Linked DNA regions of Homo sapiens: regions 1, 2 and 4 are each linked to region 3. The links are contacts of gene promoters, found by promoter capture Hi-C in blood cells and fetal thymus (Javierre and others, 2016). All regions are on one chromosome and are shown on one strand. Each heading gives the region's core, a stretch centred on a gene start or on the middle of the fragment in contact. The rest is flanking DNA. Distances are from core to core; before and after follow the strand shown. Region 1 overlaps FBXW7 (F-box and WD repeat domain containing 7). Region 2 overlaps FBXW7 (F-box and WD repeat domain containing 7). Region 3 holds the start of FHIP1A-DT (FHIP1A divergent transcript). Region 4 overlaps FBXW7 (F-box and WD repeat domain containing 7).

Evidence for each region. The method cuts DNA at HindIII sites, captures the fragments that hold promoters and counts their contacts. A CHiCAGO score of 5 or more calls a contact.
Region 1: a fragment that was not itself captured here is called in contact with the fragment with the promoter of FHIP1A-DT in region 3 in 5 of 17 cell types (total CD4 T cells, naive CD8 T cells, non-activated CD4 T cells and 2 more); the score reaches 8.3 in total CD4 T cells.
Region 2: a fragment that was not itself captured here is called in contact with the fragment with the promoter of FHIP1A-DT in region 3 in 7 of 17 cell types (non-activated CD4 T cells, total CD4 T cells, naive CD4 T cells and 4 more); the score reaches 9.3 in non-activated CD4 T cells.
Region 4: a fragment that was not itself captured here is called in contact with the fragment with the promoter of FHIP1A-DT in region 3 in 2 of 17 cell types (fetal thymus and total CD4 T cells); the score reaches 7.2 in fetal thymus.

What each region holds. Positions count from the first base shown.
Region 1 is chr4:152,387,946-152,392,078 of GRCh38, forward strand. All of the region lies in intron 4 of FBXW7 (F-box and WD repeat domain containing 7), which reads right to left. Among named protein-coding and RNA genes, the nearest start is that of FBXW7-AS1, 52 kb to the left of the region's middle. The HindIII fragment of the contact is 2,347 bases long and covers 98-2,444 here.
Region 2 is chr4:152,371,691-152,375,291 of GRCh38, forward strand. All of the region lies in intron 4 of FBXW7 (F-box and WD repeat domain containing 7), which reads right to left. Among named protein-coding and RNA genes, the nearest start is that of FBXW7-AS1, 36 kb to the left of the region's middle. The HindIII fragment of the contact is 1,843 bases long and covers 572-2,414 here.
Region 3 is chr4:151,407,360-151,411,386 of GRCh38, forward strand. FHIP1A-DT (FHIP1A divergent transcript) reads right to left here and starts at 1,533. Exons shown (of 3, transcript NR_183963.1): 1 at 1-1,533. FHIP1A (FHF complex subunit HOOK interacting protein 1A) reads left to right here and starts at 1,817. Exons shown (of 14, transcript NM_001109977.3): 1 at 1,817-2,106. RefSeq lists enhancers at 247-556, 388-1,087, 1,088-1,787 and silencers at 1,014-1,486, 1,607-1,776. The HindIII fragment of the contact is 9,357 bases long and covers 1-4,027 here.
Region 4 is chr4:152,404,370-152,408,278 of GRCh38, forward strand. All of the region lies in intron 4 of FBXW7 (F-box and WD repeat domain containing 7), which reads right to left. Among named protein-coding and RNA genes, the nearest start is that of FBXW7-AS1, 69 kb to the left of the region's middle. The HindIII fragment of the contact is 1,372 bases long and covers 881-2,252 here.

The DNA.
Region 1 (4,133 bases), core at 21-2,520, 980 kb after region 3:
GATCCGCCCACCTCGGCCTCCCAAAGTGCTGGGATTACAGGCGTGAGCCACAGCGCCTGGTCAGGATATCTTTTAAAGTTTTAGTATTTTTTTTTTAAGCTTTAGTATTCACAAAAGGTATGTCAAATAAATTAAAATGTTTTTATAAGATTAAAATCACATTTAAAATGATTACTAAAAATGTTCTAAAAGATATTTATTTACATGCTCAAAGTGCTCACTCAGATTACAACTTCCAATTATAATGTATTTGAGACATTACATGTATGTAAACATTCAATGGACAACATACTGCACTTCCCTGCTAATTTTCTTCATTTGGGCAACAAGGGCGGCCCCTAACTAAGAGAAATATGCTTGGGTTCTGAAGCAGCACATACAACATACACAAGTGTTATAAAAATGTGACCTGATAATTGGACATTTGCAAAATAAAAGCATTGCATGTACATGCCTATATGCACAGATAGGTAGCATTCTCAAAATAAAAATGCCAGAATACTAGATTATATAAGGTATTGTAACTGCTCTGATTTATGGAATCAACATCTCAATGTTAGACATTTAAGCTGTTTTATATTCCAGTTATTTCCAAAAATTTTGCTGAAAATACATTATAAATTAAAAAGTAAAACACAGAAAACCAACCAAAACAAGTGCTAATAAATTATAAGTTGACAGATGACAAAACCATCCCATGGTACACCAGAAACTCCAAGATTCAGGAACCTTAACTATTTAATGTCTTGCAGTACAATTACCTGGAGTTTATACTTCAGATTTCTACAAAGAGGAGGCTAAATATTTAATAGATATAGACTATCTGACTTCTCTTCAGATGATTGAGATTAAGTCCCTTGCAGGTTTAAGAGTACATTACATCTCTAAATCAACAGAATGAAAAGACAACCTACAGAATGGGAGAAAATATTTGCAAACTATGCTTCTAACAGGGGGCTGATATGCAGAATTGACAGGCAACTCAACAACAAAAACCAAATTAACTTCATTAAAAAGTGGGAAAAGAACATGAATAAATACTTCTCAAAAGAAGACATACATATTTTTTCATGCCTACAAGCATGAAAAAATGTTCAACATCATTATCAAAGAAATGCAAAGTAAAACCACAATGAGATCTCATCTCACACCATTCAGAATGGCTATTATTAAAAAGACAAAAAATAATAGATGTTGGCGAGGATGTGGAGAAAAAGAAATGCTTATACGGTGTTGGTGGGAATGCAAATTAGTACAATCTCTATGGAAAACATTATGGAGATTTCTCAGAGAACTAATAATAGAACTATCATTTGATCCAGCAATCCCACTACTGGGCATCTACCCAAAAGAAAAGAAATCATTATTTTAAAGATGCCCAAGAATTTAGTTGGTGATTATAATAGTTATAACTTTAAGTCAACTATGATAACTAACCCACATATATATATGTTTACACACACACACAAATGGAATACTATTCAGCTATAAAAAAGAATGAAATGTCTTTTGCAGCAACATGGATGGAATTGGAGGTGATTCTTCAGTGAAACAACACAGAAACAGAAAGTCAAATACCACGTTTCACTTACAAGTGAAAGCTAAGTAAAGTGTACACATGAACATGGAGTGTGTAGTAATAGATATTAAGAGACTCAGAAGGGTGACATGCAGGGAGGATGCTGAGAGATGAGAAATCACTTAACGGGTACAATGTATACTATTTGGGTGACAGGTACACTAAAGGCCCAAATTTCACCACTATGTAATATATCCATGTAAAAAAAACTAGAGTACCCCTTAAATTTATACCAAAAAAAAGCATATTACAGCTCTAATAATATTACATATATGGCCTTCTTGTAAGAAGGTTCAATTTGGTGAGCTTTCCTTTATTATAGTTTAGTGAACAATATAGCTAGTTTATAAAATATATCCAAATAAAATGCATTGTTTCAATTCTTTTGTGTCTGCCTTCTTTTACAAAAGGCATGTATGCCTGTGCTCTAAATGTTTTTGTATAGTAATAAGAAAACATTTTTATTGGAAAGAAGCTACAGGCATAATGATTTTTAAAAAAATTTTTAAAAGATGAAATTCAAGAAAAATAACCTCAGGATTTTTCTGATTCCATATTATACTATAATAATATGTGTGTGTGTTTATATATTTTTTTCCTCTCCTACCTACTGTAGTGGTCTAAACACTAGCATATAGAGTATATTTGACTTTTTTTTTTTAATGAGTAAACTTTGGATTTTATTTCTATTATTTGTGCCTAAGAACTTTAGTTGTTAAAATACTTTTCCTCATCCTTTCATTAAGCATTTTAAAAAGTACTTAAGATAAAACAAAAATCCAACTATCCCACTGAATTTTCTAAGTATTTCAGAAATGCCCAGTATGAAGTCTTCAATGACTTAACATAACCTGTCTCATGATTAAGCTTAACTCTTACAGGCTGAGCTGGGTTACCCCAGCTGTTAAAATGGCCTTACACAGCTGCTCACCAAGAATTTAGTTCGTGATTATTATAGTTACACCTTTAAGTCAACTATGACAAAAATGACACAGTAATTACAGGTATTTCAGTCATGCAAAAAGCCTCATGTAATGACAGAGTAAGTGATTTAAAGTAACCTAATTTTCCATAATTCTCAAAATAAAATTTAAGTCTAAGAAAGACAATAACTTCTTTAATGTCAGTACTTAAGTCCATAAACAGTTTAAACATAACAGTTTAAACTTTCAGTTAAAATAAATTAAACATTACTTACCAATAATATCTTTCTCTTATAAAAATTCTTAAGAGTATTGCAGGCCAGGGAGTCATAATACTAATTATACTAATAATTAGGACTAAGGAAATAATACTAATATTCTTTTAAAATACAGTAAGTAATTGTGTGTTTTTTTGCTACACAGCTTTAAAAAATTAAGCTATAATGCAGAAGGCTCAACCAAATTGACAGTTTGACAAATTATAAAAATTTATCTTATGAAAAATAAAAAGCTACACTTATGGAAACATAAAAAATCTGAAGGAGTGCTGGTGCTTTAAATAGGTAAAATAGGAGGGGGACATTATTTCCTATACTGTTGAGTTTCTGATGCAATTATAAATAAAAATCAATATATTTTGAGAAAGATAAACATAGTACCATACTTCATTTATATAATTTTCAGTAATGTGCTATGCAAGTATGTGAGATTTATTAATATTAACTGAAAGTACTTCAGCACAGAATTTAAGTATAGAATTAAAGTACAGAAAACAAGTATAAGATTAAGCAATAGAAAATACATATTTAGAACTTAATTCTTGGACGGGCTGACAGTTGATACCACTGGCCTTTTACGCTGTCAATATTACATACTCAAAAAAATAATTTTTCTGAAAAATATCAATGTTATTTTTTGTAGCTGAGGTTTAAATTAAGCTGAGAGCCTAAGTTTTCATTCTTTACAGTAAGTAAAACACTAACTGGCTATCAAGAAAAATTAGAAACAAAGAAATAAAATTCAATTCCTACTATTCTTTAGTATGCCTGTAATACAAAGATCTTGGGATAGAAAGATAAATAAGTCTAAGGAGACTATCAGAGATCAGTAAGAGATATAAAGGAAGTCTGCAGCTATAGGGCTTAGAAAATACGTACGCATTGTTTCAGACTGGAACAATGATAAGGGGAAGAGATTAAACACTGACAAGAGTTTCTACTAGATCATGCTTTGTATCACTTAATCACCACGCCGAAACCCTGAGGTATCATTATCCTTGTCTACTTGTTACAGACAAAACTAAGGCTCAGAAAGGCTTACAAATTTGCCCAAGGTAACACAGCTGCCAGGTAGTAGAGTTGAGATTTTAACCCTGGTATGTCTAATTCCTAAACCTGTGCTTTGTAACAGAACATCTATCCAATTCCACAGAATGTTACATCCTAACTTAGTTGTGTTACTTCCTAAATTAGTTGTTCGGAGACACTTCTTTGTCAGTGTTTCAGATATGTAAGTTTGTCAGATATAAATGAGTTCTAGATAACTGAAATAAAGTATTGTATAAGACATTTACATATTAAATATGGAATGTTTTAATGTGCCTGATTTTTATGAAGCCCAAATTTAAAAAA
Region 2 (3,601 bases), core at 243-2,742, 960 kb after region 3:
CTTGGAGGACTTCTCAGGACCGCTAAAATGTTGAAAGGACTTTTTTTCCTGTTTTGTTCACTAATGTATCCCAAGTGCCTAGAACTGGGCCTGGCTATTAGCAGATGCTTATTTGTTGAATAAATTAATTAAGCCATGTTCATCTAATTTTGATATGTGACCATGAAATGTGGATGATGAGACAAGTCTCTCAGAGACATGAAGGCATTTGTGGATTCCTTAAGGGAAAGGTGTGCTGTCTTATTCATCTTTGTAACAGTAGCAACACACACAGAGAGTATGCATACTATATATCAGCAGATTAAAATTAATTTTGTGGTGTTAATTTCCCATGGAAATACTGGGACAATTAAAAAAAATGTGGTTGAGGTTCTCTACACTCATTTAAAGAATAAGTCTATTAGCATGAGCTGTATTTTAATCACTGAAGAAAAGTAATATAAAAGCTCCAAACTATCATTGTATTATATGGTTATAATAGCCTATAATTAGGTTAATAAACTTTAGGTACTCATCTATATATGTATGTTTTAAAGTATTTAATATGCATGTACTCAGAGACTTAAGATAAAGCTTAGACTACTCTGACATTTCAAAGTGTGTTCAGTTTTTTATGAGTGGGTGACAGTTGTAAAACTCTAAGGTCTCTGGATTTAGTTCCATGCTCTTGGAGACAGCTGTGTTCCTAAATTCAGAATATTTTGAATTGTAGAAAGGTAACAGAGTGCATATACTATTTATTACAGAGCACTTCCAGTATATCACACATTAGTGTTTCTCCAGCAAAATATATGAATATTCAGATAAATAATAAAGATGACTGTTTTATGTTAGTTTGGGTTAGGTTTTGCTACCTTTATTTTTAAATTTTCAGTTTTCAGAGCATGATGGATTTCTGCTTTGCAGACAAGGGACTGTGGACTTATTTCACACTTGTTTACCTTGCCAGGAGCTTAGTTCCAAGTTTATTTTTAGCATATTTTTCATCTGTCTTCTATATTACAAGCCTCAACATTAAGTTAGTTTCTGTAAAACCTAACTTAGTTTATATTTACAAATTTAAATAGCCTTGCCCTTTGATGTCAAAATTATACAAATTGTTACCTAATTAAAAATTTGTTACATAAAAGACAAAATCATACAAGTTGTTTCCATAGTGTAGTTACAGATTTATAAATCATGTGCTAAGTCGCTTTGTACTCCTATCTGACAACTAGGGCACAACCCAATACTAAAACATCATCTGATGACAAAAACATACAGAAGGCAGTATTATCAGTAATTAGATATTGAGACCATCATAAATTGTTGGGAAAGGTGAGAATTACACATTTAAAATTCCAAGATTATATGGCAAAAGTTAACCCTTAAAACATTTGGACACTAAGGGTCTGTTCAACAAATGCCTACTCCAGATCCGTTTCCTGCAGTGGCTGTGATGCTGGAATAAGACTGCTTGAGTTAGTGTCCTAGCTACATTACTTACTAGCTAAGGGGCAAGAACCTTCCTATGCCTGAGATTCCTCACGTGTAAAACAGGTAAAATACAATACAACGTACTTCACAAGGTGATTTTAAGGATTAAATGAGTTTATGTATAGAAAGTAACTAGAGTAGTGCCTCTTCTACATCCCAAATCATACCTTATTCTATTACCCTATTTTACTGTCATCAAAATATTAACAGTAGTATTTATTTTCTGTCTCCCCAAACTACAATCTAAGCTCCATGAGGGCATGGCCTTTGTCTATCAAGTTCACTGTTATATCTACAGTTTCTAGGAAAGTTCTCTACTCTAGGTGCTCAATACGTATTTTTTCAACATTAATAAATTGACGGCAAGATGTAATTTGCAGCAGTATACTTAATATGAAAAAACATAAGACAAGACACGATCCCAAGCAATGATACAAGTTCCCTCTATCACTCCTCTGATCACCTACTTAGCAAACATCTTCATGTTTTAATTCAGGGTTACTGTGAAGCCCTTCCTGAACCACTCATATTGAGCTCTGAGTGCCTCCTCATACTCTGACAGTACTTTGTACGTAGGTCCATTTAAGCAGTTATTATTTTGTACTATAATGGTTTGTTTGTAGTTTTATCACTGTGACTTTTCATTTGTGCATGGGCATGGGGGATCATCATCTTATTTATAGCCGGTGGCTTGCACAGCACAGAGAATGCAAAGAAAACCGACAATTACATTGCTTACTCATGTTGATGCATGATGTGTGAAACATTCTTAAAGAGAAAAAGACCAAAGGATCTAAAATAGAATGGTCTGATATGTGATAACTGACAGTAATTAATGCCTTTATTGATAAAGTAAGTAGTGACCATAAAAAACACCAAAGGATCTGGAAATGTTTATATTTTCCAAGTACCAATGGAAGATATATGCAAGTAAGAGAAGCTTAGAAAGCCACATTTTAGTTTCCTCACTCAAAAACAAACAAACAAAAACAAAACAAACCAAAAAAACCCCACCACAAAACAGGTACCCTATTAAATTCCCTCTCTAAATTTGCTCATACCACCACCCTATTCTTTCTTCTCTTCAAAGTACTGTATTTTTTTTCTCTATTTCAGCATTTTCTGATATTTAGGAGCTACTCTAGACTCCCAAAAGTACCACCTAAATGACTATACCATGTGTGTTTCTTTTTCATTTTCAAAATTAGTACATAGTAATTACTTTTAAAATTAAGTGTCAAACTGTATCTGAGTTTCGTTAAATTTAGAAAATGAAATATTCAAAATCACAGCTGCACAGTCACTTAAAAACATTTAGTAAACAAAAACAAGCCACATTCTTACAGCACAAAAATTCCTTAAGGATTTTTCCAAGTTTAACAGACACTTCAATGAATCAGCCATAGAAATATTTATACTAACTTTCTCCTGCATATCTCTGGAAGCATAAAAAGGTATTAAAAATAACCTCTGAATTGTAAGAGTTTATAACCTAACCAAGGAGATATCTATACAAAGTTGTCATATAACATCATTGAGCAGCCCATATAGTATGCCTAAGGACCAAAGATAACAGCAATAATTGAGGACAACAGTGGATGAAACCAGTGCCAGAAGGGAGGTTTCAAGAGAGAGGTAAGCTGGACCATGAGGTCATGGAAAGGATGTAGAAAAACAGGCACAAATGTAACCAGTGGATACCAAATAGACTAGTTACAGGAGGGGGGGGGATGATGCTGGCTTTTAAAACGTTTTATATTTCCGTATGTTAAGGAGGTATCAATATATTTTTACTTGGCTAAGAGTTCTATGAAAGTGATGTTGAGTTTCGTGAAATCCCTTTTAGTCATCAAGACATTTTAGAAGAGGAGACTTGCTACAACTACTTTAAATGAGAATTAATCATAGCTAGACTAGAATTTTTTTTTTTAAGGCAAACCAGGATTGGGGCTAAATGACAAAGCTATGACAGAAATGTAATGCTAAGTAACAGTGCTATAGGAAACAGGCAAGTATTTCTGGCAGCTGCTCCTGCTAGCATGAGAAGTACTCTTACAGTAGAGATTATTAATAGCTATATACTTTGGGAGAGGTTGTCACTTATACTGTAAAGATACCATGCTAA
Region 3 (4,027 bases), core at 283-2,782:
AGAGGTAAGCTCCACGAGGGCTGGAATTGTTGTTTGTGCTCTCTGCTGTGTCCTCAACCCCTAGAAGCGTGCCTAGCATGCAAAAGGCACTCAGTATATATTTGTTGAGTAAATGAATGCTTCCCCCACCTTCCAACTGTTAGAGCAGGCCAAGGGGACCTGTTGTGCAGAACTTCACAGCTTTCTACTCTGAGCTCTATCTTCCTTGTTCTTCCCCAGCTTTTACTTAGGAGCCACTTCTTGACTGAGCTTGTCACAGGTGAAAGGCTGATGAATCTGGAGAGATACTTGTGGCAAGTACCCGGTGTTCCTGCAGTCATCCACAAGCGCAGCAGTGGTGGTAGACAGCTAGAGAAGAAAGTGTAAAGTTTGCATCCTCCAATTATCACGGTTGCAAGACAGAACTTGAAACTAGATACACCTGATTTTGGTTATCTCTGGATGCCATTCACCGAGAATGAAGGGAAGAAGATACTTCCTCCAAAGGAGAATCTGATGAGGCGCCAGCAGGCTGCTGCTGCGGTGGAAACTGCCACATCCGCTTTTGCAAACTGGTGTGGCCCCAGCTGCTTGGACTGAGGCTCAACGCAGGTTTCAGCCACTTCAACCACAGGGCTACGAACATGCCAAGAGAGCCACTAACCAAGTTTCTCATTCCTCCTCTGAGATTTAAAGTCCATCACTTCGCGACTCAAACACGCAAGAGGCGTGGGAGACGGAGGAATGGGGAAGCGAGGCGGCGCTGCCCACCTTGGCAATGGCACAGCCGCGGTCTCTGATGCAAAGGCAGGCGGCCGCGCAGGGCCGGGCCTGGGTGGGAAGGCTGGGCTCTGGGAAGGATGTCGGGGCACCCGGCAGTGCCCAAAGCCACCATCTCAAGCGTGATAGTGGGAAAATGGATGCTGCACCTGCTCTCTCATCTTGCGGGGAATCGTGATTTGGGGAAGTTTCACCTTTGTTGCAGAACTGCCCACATTAGAGCCTTCATTTCTTGGGAAGGGGTTGGCGGGAGTTGCCAGTGAAATGTGTGACACACACACGCGCCACATACTCCCCAAACCCACAGACGACTCCAGTAACGCTCTAGTTACCCTTAAAAAGTAAAACAGAACAAATCAGCAGGCCCCCTCCCTCCATCCTGGCACTTCATTAATGTCGGCCAAGGCCACATTTCCCCTGCCCACTGCAGGGAGTCTGTCAGGAGAACAACAGGCGAACGTTTGCCTCACTTGACTCAGCTCTCTTGGGGCGGTATCAGCATTTTAAAATTCACACCTAAAGGAAGGAGTCAGCAAAGGAAAGCAGAGCTGGGCCGGGGCGCCGGTGGCCGCCGTCAAACCTTTGGGAAGCAAGAAATCCGAAACGCCCGTGACGTGCGGCGTTGTCCGACTCCTTCCACTAGGCAGAACCCGAGAGACGAGCCTTTGGCGGGACGGTGAACGATTGTGCTGTGTACGGCGGTGTGCGTGCGTGAGTAAAGAGTGTGTAGCTCCGGCCAAACGCTAGCCCCCAAGGGCGCGAGTGCTACACTGCGCCCAGCTCAAGTTTCTGTGGAAACTTTCCCTCAGAGGCTCCTCCTCCTTCACCTTGGAAACCGGCGCGGGCCGTGCGGCGCGGCACTGCCTAAGTCCCCGGCGCACCTGGCGGCGGCGTGTCCCAGCGGCAGAGGCGGGGCCGGCGGCGGCGGGGGCGGGGCCGGGGCGCGCTCCCCGAGGCCTCCAGGCAGGTTGGGCCCCACCCCCGCCCCTGCCCCGCCCCGGCCCCCGCCCCCGCCCCCGCCCCCCCCGCGCTCACTAGGGAGAGGCTGGGGGGAGGCAGTGACCCACGCGCCTCAGCCCGCGGCTGACGCACCTTCGAAAAGTTGCGCTCCGACCTTCTCACGACCTACATTCTTCCCGGGCACTCCTGAGTTTGAGCCGGGCCTGGAGGACCTGGGCCAAGACTTTCGAGCGGCGGCCGCCCGAGGTGCGAGGAGCCAGCCCGGCTTTCCTCACTGGGTCCCGCGCAGGCGTCCCCGGGACCGCAGAGCAAACTTTCTGGACTATCTGAGGACACTTGTCCAGCGAGCCCCACTGCTCGGGGAGGAGGAGCCACGGCCGGGGACAGGTAGGTGCTGTGCTGGCCGGAGATTTGCGCTTGAGGGATTCTTTTATTTTAGAGGGTTGAAGGAGGAGGGAGAGTCGAAATGTCCCTTCTCTGCATCCGCCAACTGGGCAGGGGGTGCGGGCATTGGGCTGAGGGAGCAGGCATTGGGCTGGGGGCCGGCTGGGGATGTTCCAAACGAGGTCGCTGCGTCGGGCGGGGGCGCAGGGGGGAGGAGGTGACTTCTAGGGTTTCGGGCTCCGGGACGGGGCGTAACGCGGTGACTGACCCTGGGAGAGAGAGAGCCAGCTTGTTTTGACGAAGGAATATGTCATTAGGGCCCTCCATCCCATTCCTTGGTCCCAGGGTCCTCTGGGAGGCACAGGAAAAGGCAAAGAGATGTGGAGTTCAGGTTTCCCCTGTAAATCAACTTGCTTACACAGGAGACAGAGGCGGTGCCCCTCTGAGGTTTGCAGCCCTTTCCTGGTGTAAGGACTTACTGGTTAGGTAGCTGTTGCTCAATTTCGTAAATTCTGTGATGAAACTGCGTTCAAGTCGTGGTTATTATTGATAGTGTGTATGTGTTTGTGTTTCCTCTGGCTCAACAAAGGTCCCTTGTTAACTCCGCTTCTGCTAGGGAGTGGGAAGAACTACCTTGGTGTCTTATTTCAGGCCTGGTCAGAGCGAGGTGTTGGTGCAGGCGGCGGTAGCCTTGTTGGCTTGGGACTTTGGGAATCACATGAGCAGGTCTAGTGAATTAGTGTCCCAGCCTCCTGGACCCACCCATTCACAGCAGATCTAGCTTCCACTATTCAGCAGATGCTGCAGCCCCAGCTATCCAGGGACAGGGAAACCCCCCTGAAGGGAAAGAGCCAAATGTTGAGAAGGAGAGACAGCTTTCAGGAGGAGGAGTAAACAATGCCTAACAATTGTTGCTTCCCTATAGATTGGGCTTGCTCCCTTGGCTTCTCTGGAAGGGCTGTGCTATCAAATTCATCTCATTAGGAAGTCAGCTGCTCCCTGCTAATAGTCATAGCAGCCCTGATGAAATTATATAGGTCATTGAAAAATAATTCCTGCTTAATTACCTTTATCCTGTTGATTAATGAGAGGGAAGATTTCCTCTCCTTAATGTATTATGCCTGCTTGTCAGGGTCACCTGCCTGACCTCAAGTTCACTTGTACACCTGGCACTAGGCAGGATGCTGTCCCCGAAGCTGTCCACATGTAGTGAACCACAGCTGAAGTCCACGTTTGGAGAACTTCAAAGGTCTTCTTTGGACCGAAATTGAGCAGGATATTTAGTCCATAAATTTACTCTTTAATACAGTATACTTGTTGGCTTTAGGTAACTTTTCGCATAATTAAAGGTTGATATCTTTTTAGTTCCAGTTAATCCCTTTCCGCAGAGCTCATAAGAATTATGTCCATGCCTGTCTTGAAATAAATTAAGTTTGGGGTCCTATTTATCATTTGTCCTGTAGGACAAGGAACAGGATTAAACTGTGTAGGGTGGCTGGAAAGGGGCAGAGAAACTGGACATCACTGAAGTGGATTCAGAGAGTGATTGAGAGTGGTCTAAAAATTTAGGTCCAACTGCCCAGCTACCTTTTTTCTTGGCTCTCATATAAAGACATTGTGTAGGACTTTTAATGGAGGACTTGAAGACTAGAAATAAAAGGAGTGTTTTATTTTTACATAGTCAGAGTGATGCATTGCTGGACAGTTCTGTACTCTGCCTCCCAAGATTGGTTCAAAATACTTTCTCTGCTAAGTTCTTTCTTTAATAGGAACTTGATAGATAATGACTGCAAACAAGAAGCAGATGTACAAATATATTATGTAGAGATATGGAGGTAAAATGAGAAAAAACAAGAATTGCCTCTGAGGAGTGAAATTATATATATATTTTTTTTTTTTTAAAGTTAGGGTCTCTCTCTCTCTC
Region 4 (3,909 bases), core at 317-2,816, 1.0 Mb after region 3:
AGAAAAAATAACCTTTTATTCAACCACATTCAGAGATAATTCCTAACATTTGGTACAACTTCTTCTGATCTTTTTCTTTGCATATGTATATATGTAGATACATACACACACACATATATAAAAATGTATGTTTGCTTCATAATTAAGATCACACTGTATAGAGTTTTGAATCCTATATTTTAAATAAAATATTTTTAAGCATTTCCTGTTATTAAATATTCTTTCAAATGTGATGTTTAATGGCTGTATGAATTGCCTTCAACTGATTTCTGCATGTTAGCAAAATGATTCCTAAAGTGGGATTTTTAACTTCTCCTCAGGGCAGTCTCAATTTAACGATCTGTACATATACTGAATACCTGAGTCTTAAACTCAATTTTAATGACGTGCCCATTTACAATTTCTAGTCTAGCTTAGGTACATCTTAAGAGGTGAAATGAGGCTGGGGCATGGTGGCTCATACCTGTAATCCCAGCACTTTGGGAGGCCCAGGCAGGAAGATCACCAGAGCTCAGGAGTTTGAGACCAGGGTGGGCAACATAGTAAGACCTTGTCTTTACAGATAATTCAAAAATTAGCCAAGCGTGGTGGTGCCACGAGTGGTCCCAGTTACTCGGGAGGCTGAGGTGGGAGAATTGCTTAAGCCTGGGAGGTGGAGGCTGCAGTGAGCCATGATTATGCCACTGCACTCCATCCAGCCTGGGCAACAAAGCAAGACCTTGTCTTAAAAAAAAAAAAAAAAAAAAAAAGAGGTGAAATGACAACTGTTCACATTACAGTTTGCCAGTCTTCAATTCTCAAACTGAATTAGGACTGAAAACAAATTTACCAAATTTCTACTGCTCAAAAAAGTGAAGAATTATATGTCAACTTAAGACAAAGCTTACCAAAAATGTCACCAGGTAATACCAAATGAACTGCACCATGAAGAGAAGCAAGAACAGGTTGAAAGGAATTCGATTTTCTAAATCTAGGAAGGTATTAAGATAGGGGATTTGGACTTCGATTTGAAGGATATGGCTGGTGGGAAGGAGTATGATTCAAAACAAGTAGAGAGGAGAGGAGATGAAACCAGGTAAAAACTATGGTAAGATATTGGAAGACTTCAAACATTCTCATTTAGGTTTGGCTTTATCAGTGGGAAATGGGGCACCAGATATCTGTATTGAGGTTATTATCTATACAGAGCTAAAAATTCATTTTAAAAAACTCATCCAATTATTCATACTGCCAACTCATTGTCAAGGACGTGGCGTTATAGCCTGATGCAAACAGAAGCCCAAGCAAAAATGCTCTTAACGTTTTTAAACACTGACCCTCCAATTTTTATCTTACAATTGCCTGGCGGGTAAGAAAAAGAGAGACTAAGTGATCAAGTCTGTTAAATTATTCAGCAGGCCCAGACTCAGATGATAAGAAAAAGTCAAGCCACTTTTCTATCCACTGACCAGAAGATGGGACCTATTGAGAGGGAAAAGATAACCTGGGGAGGCAAATAAAAACTTGGTTTGGAGAAAGAAACAGTACTTTTAGTTTTCAGTGGACCACTCAGATGATGATGCCCAACAGACAGCTAGAAATGCAAAACTATGGCTAAGGTGAATGATCGGAGCTTGAGAAATAATTTTGGAGTTAACTACCAAAGTGAAAACAATATTCATCATGATCTATTCCTATGTCCTTTTTCTTCATACTGTCTTCCCTACCACCAACAAAAACAACATTAAAAATGGATCAGATCATTATAATACACATATGAAACAATTTTCTTTGGAAGCATTTTGAAGATAACTATTTGTGATATTTGTGTATACTTCAGTGAAGTTTATCATCTGTATAAAGAACTAATCAATGGAATGCTATAAAACAATTTTAAAATGGTCCATTTGGTGTGAAGATTATTCTTTAGTCTACAATGAAACCTCATAATTAAAATACTTTTTGAGCTGGGCACGGTGGTCCACGCCTGTAGTCCCAGCTACACAGGAGGATCTCTTATGCCCAGGGGTTCAAGGACAGCCTGGGAAACACAGCAAGGCCCCGTCTCTTAAATAATTAATAATAGTAACTGTCATTACCTGCAGTGAATGAGATACAGTTTATCACCAACATTTAGAGCTATTATTGTTTAAAATAATATTAACAAATACATTTAAAACTATATTAACAGGCATTAATTAGAAATTAACCATGAGCTAAAATTCATTTTGGCATCCATATGGAAGATTCATTAAAGCATTTAAATATACAGAAGCTTTAGTTAAAGATTAGAAGAAAGTCTAGAGAAATTGACTTAAATTCTAATGAAAGGAAAGGGTACATATTTTATCAACTAGGGAGATCTGTGGGTAGCATCGACTTCAAAATTTATGTCTATTTTTATTGAAGATGGGCCTAGCTTATTACAGTACTCTTCTAATCCTCCTATGTACCTTTTTAAAAGAATTTATTTCTCTACTTTTTACACTAGAGGGTGATATGATGACTGAATGCTGAAGGTTGTAAAACATATATATAGAGATTGACAACCGCTGCGGGGAATGAAGTTTATTTTGTGGGATTTGGGGTAAGGCACAGGAGACGGAAAAAATGAGGTCACAAGGCCGATATCTGCAAAATATCTGAGTGTCCCAGGCACTATGCTACTTGTTTTACATAAATTATTTCACTTAATCCTTACAAAAACCTTGAGAGGTAGGCATGAGTCTTTATTTTACAGATAAAGTAATAGGTTCACTGAGATTATATACTCATGGTTATACAGTAAGTGGTATAATCAGAATTCAAACTCAGATGTGAAAAGTTCTTATCACTCTAATATGTTAGGGGAAAACCCATCTCACCCATTGTCCCCATTTCTCCCATTTCCATTATCCTCCCCACATGTTTAAAATTGGGCTAAATTAGGCTGAGTCAATGTTTCATTTTTCCTCCTTCACAAAGGTAGGGGACATGGCTATTCATTGGGCCATGTTTACTAGTGGATGTTATTCAAGATGACTGCCTTAAATAGCATTTTTTGCTCTCTGGACATGTATATACCAAACAGACTTTGAACTTAAGTTGCTTGTCTTGCAGGTAGACTAGGCCAGGGACTTTCTGAAGAAGCTATCATTCTCTAGAACTCTACAACAGAGTGTAACTTAGAGCCCTGTTATATTTCCAATGTTAGCCACATTATCCTACAAAGCTGCTCAGCAGCTCTGGTCCTAGGAGGTGGTTGGAGAATGGCGGACCAGATACCCTGATTGGTTAATGATCCTATTACCTGATTCCTCTATTGTTCAGAATTTATAGACAAGAAAGGGTCTTACGCCTCTAAACTCCAATACACTAGATGCTTCTCCACACCTCCCCCCACCCTCTATTTATTTATTCTGAAACAGGGTCTTGCTCTGTGGCCCAGATCACTGCAGCCTCAACCTCCTGGGCCCAAATGATCCTCCAACCTCAGCCCCCAAAGTAGCTGGAACCACAGGCGCATGCCATCACACTCAGCTAATTTTTGTATTTTTTGTAGAGACAGGGTTTTGCCATGTTGCCCAGGCTGGTCTCAAGCAATCTGCCCACCTCAGCCTCTCAAAGTGCTGGGATCACAGGTGTGAGCCACCACACCTGGCTATCTTTTATATATATTTATTTTTTGATAAACATTTATTTCTTATTTGAGGCAAATGGATAAAAACGATTTAATTACTAGGAAGAATCTAACAATCAAGATGGGAAAAAAATAGACTAATTTGAGGTAAGGAAGTTATGTGAGAAGAGAACAGGTGGAAGCCACTAAGATAGATATGGAAGCATCAGAAATTAATGCTCAAACACACTTCTCTTCATCAAAAGATCAGGATACCAGATCTGGCCTAATAATCATCTCATTTGTTTTTCATGTTAGTAGAAAATTAGTTG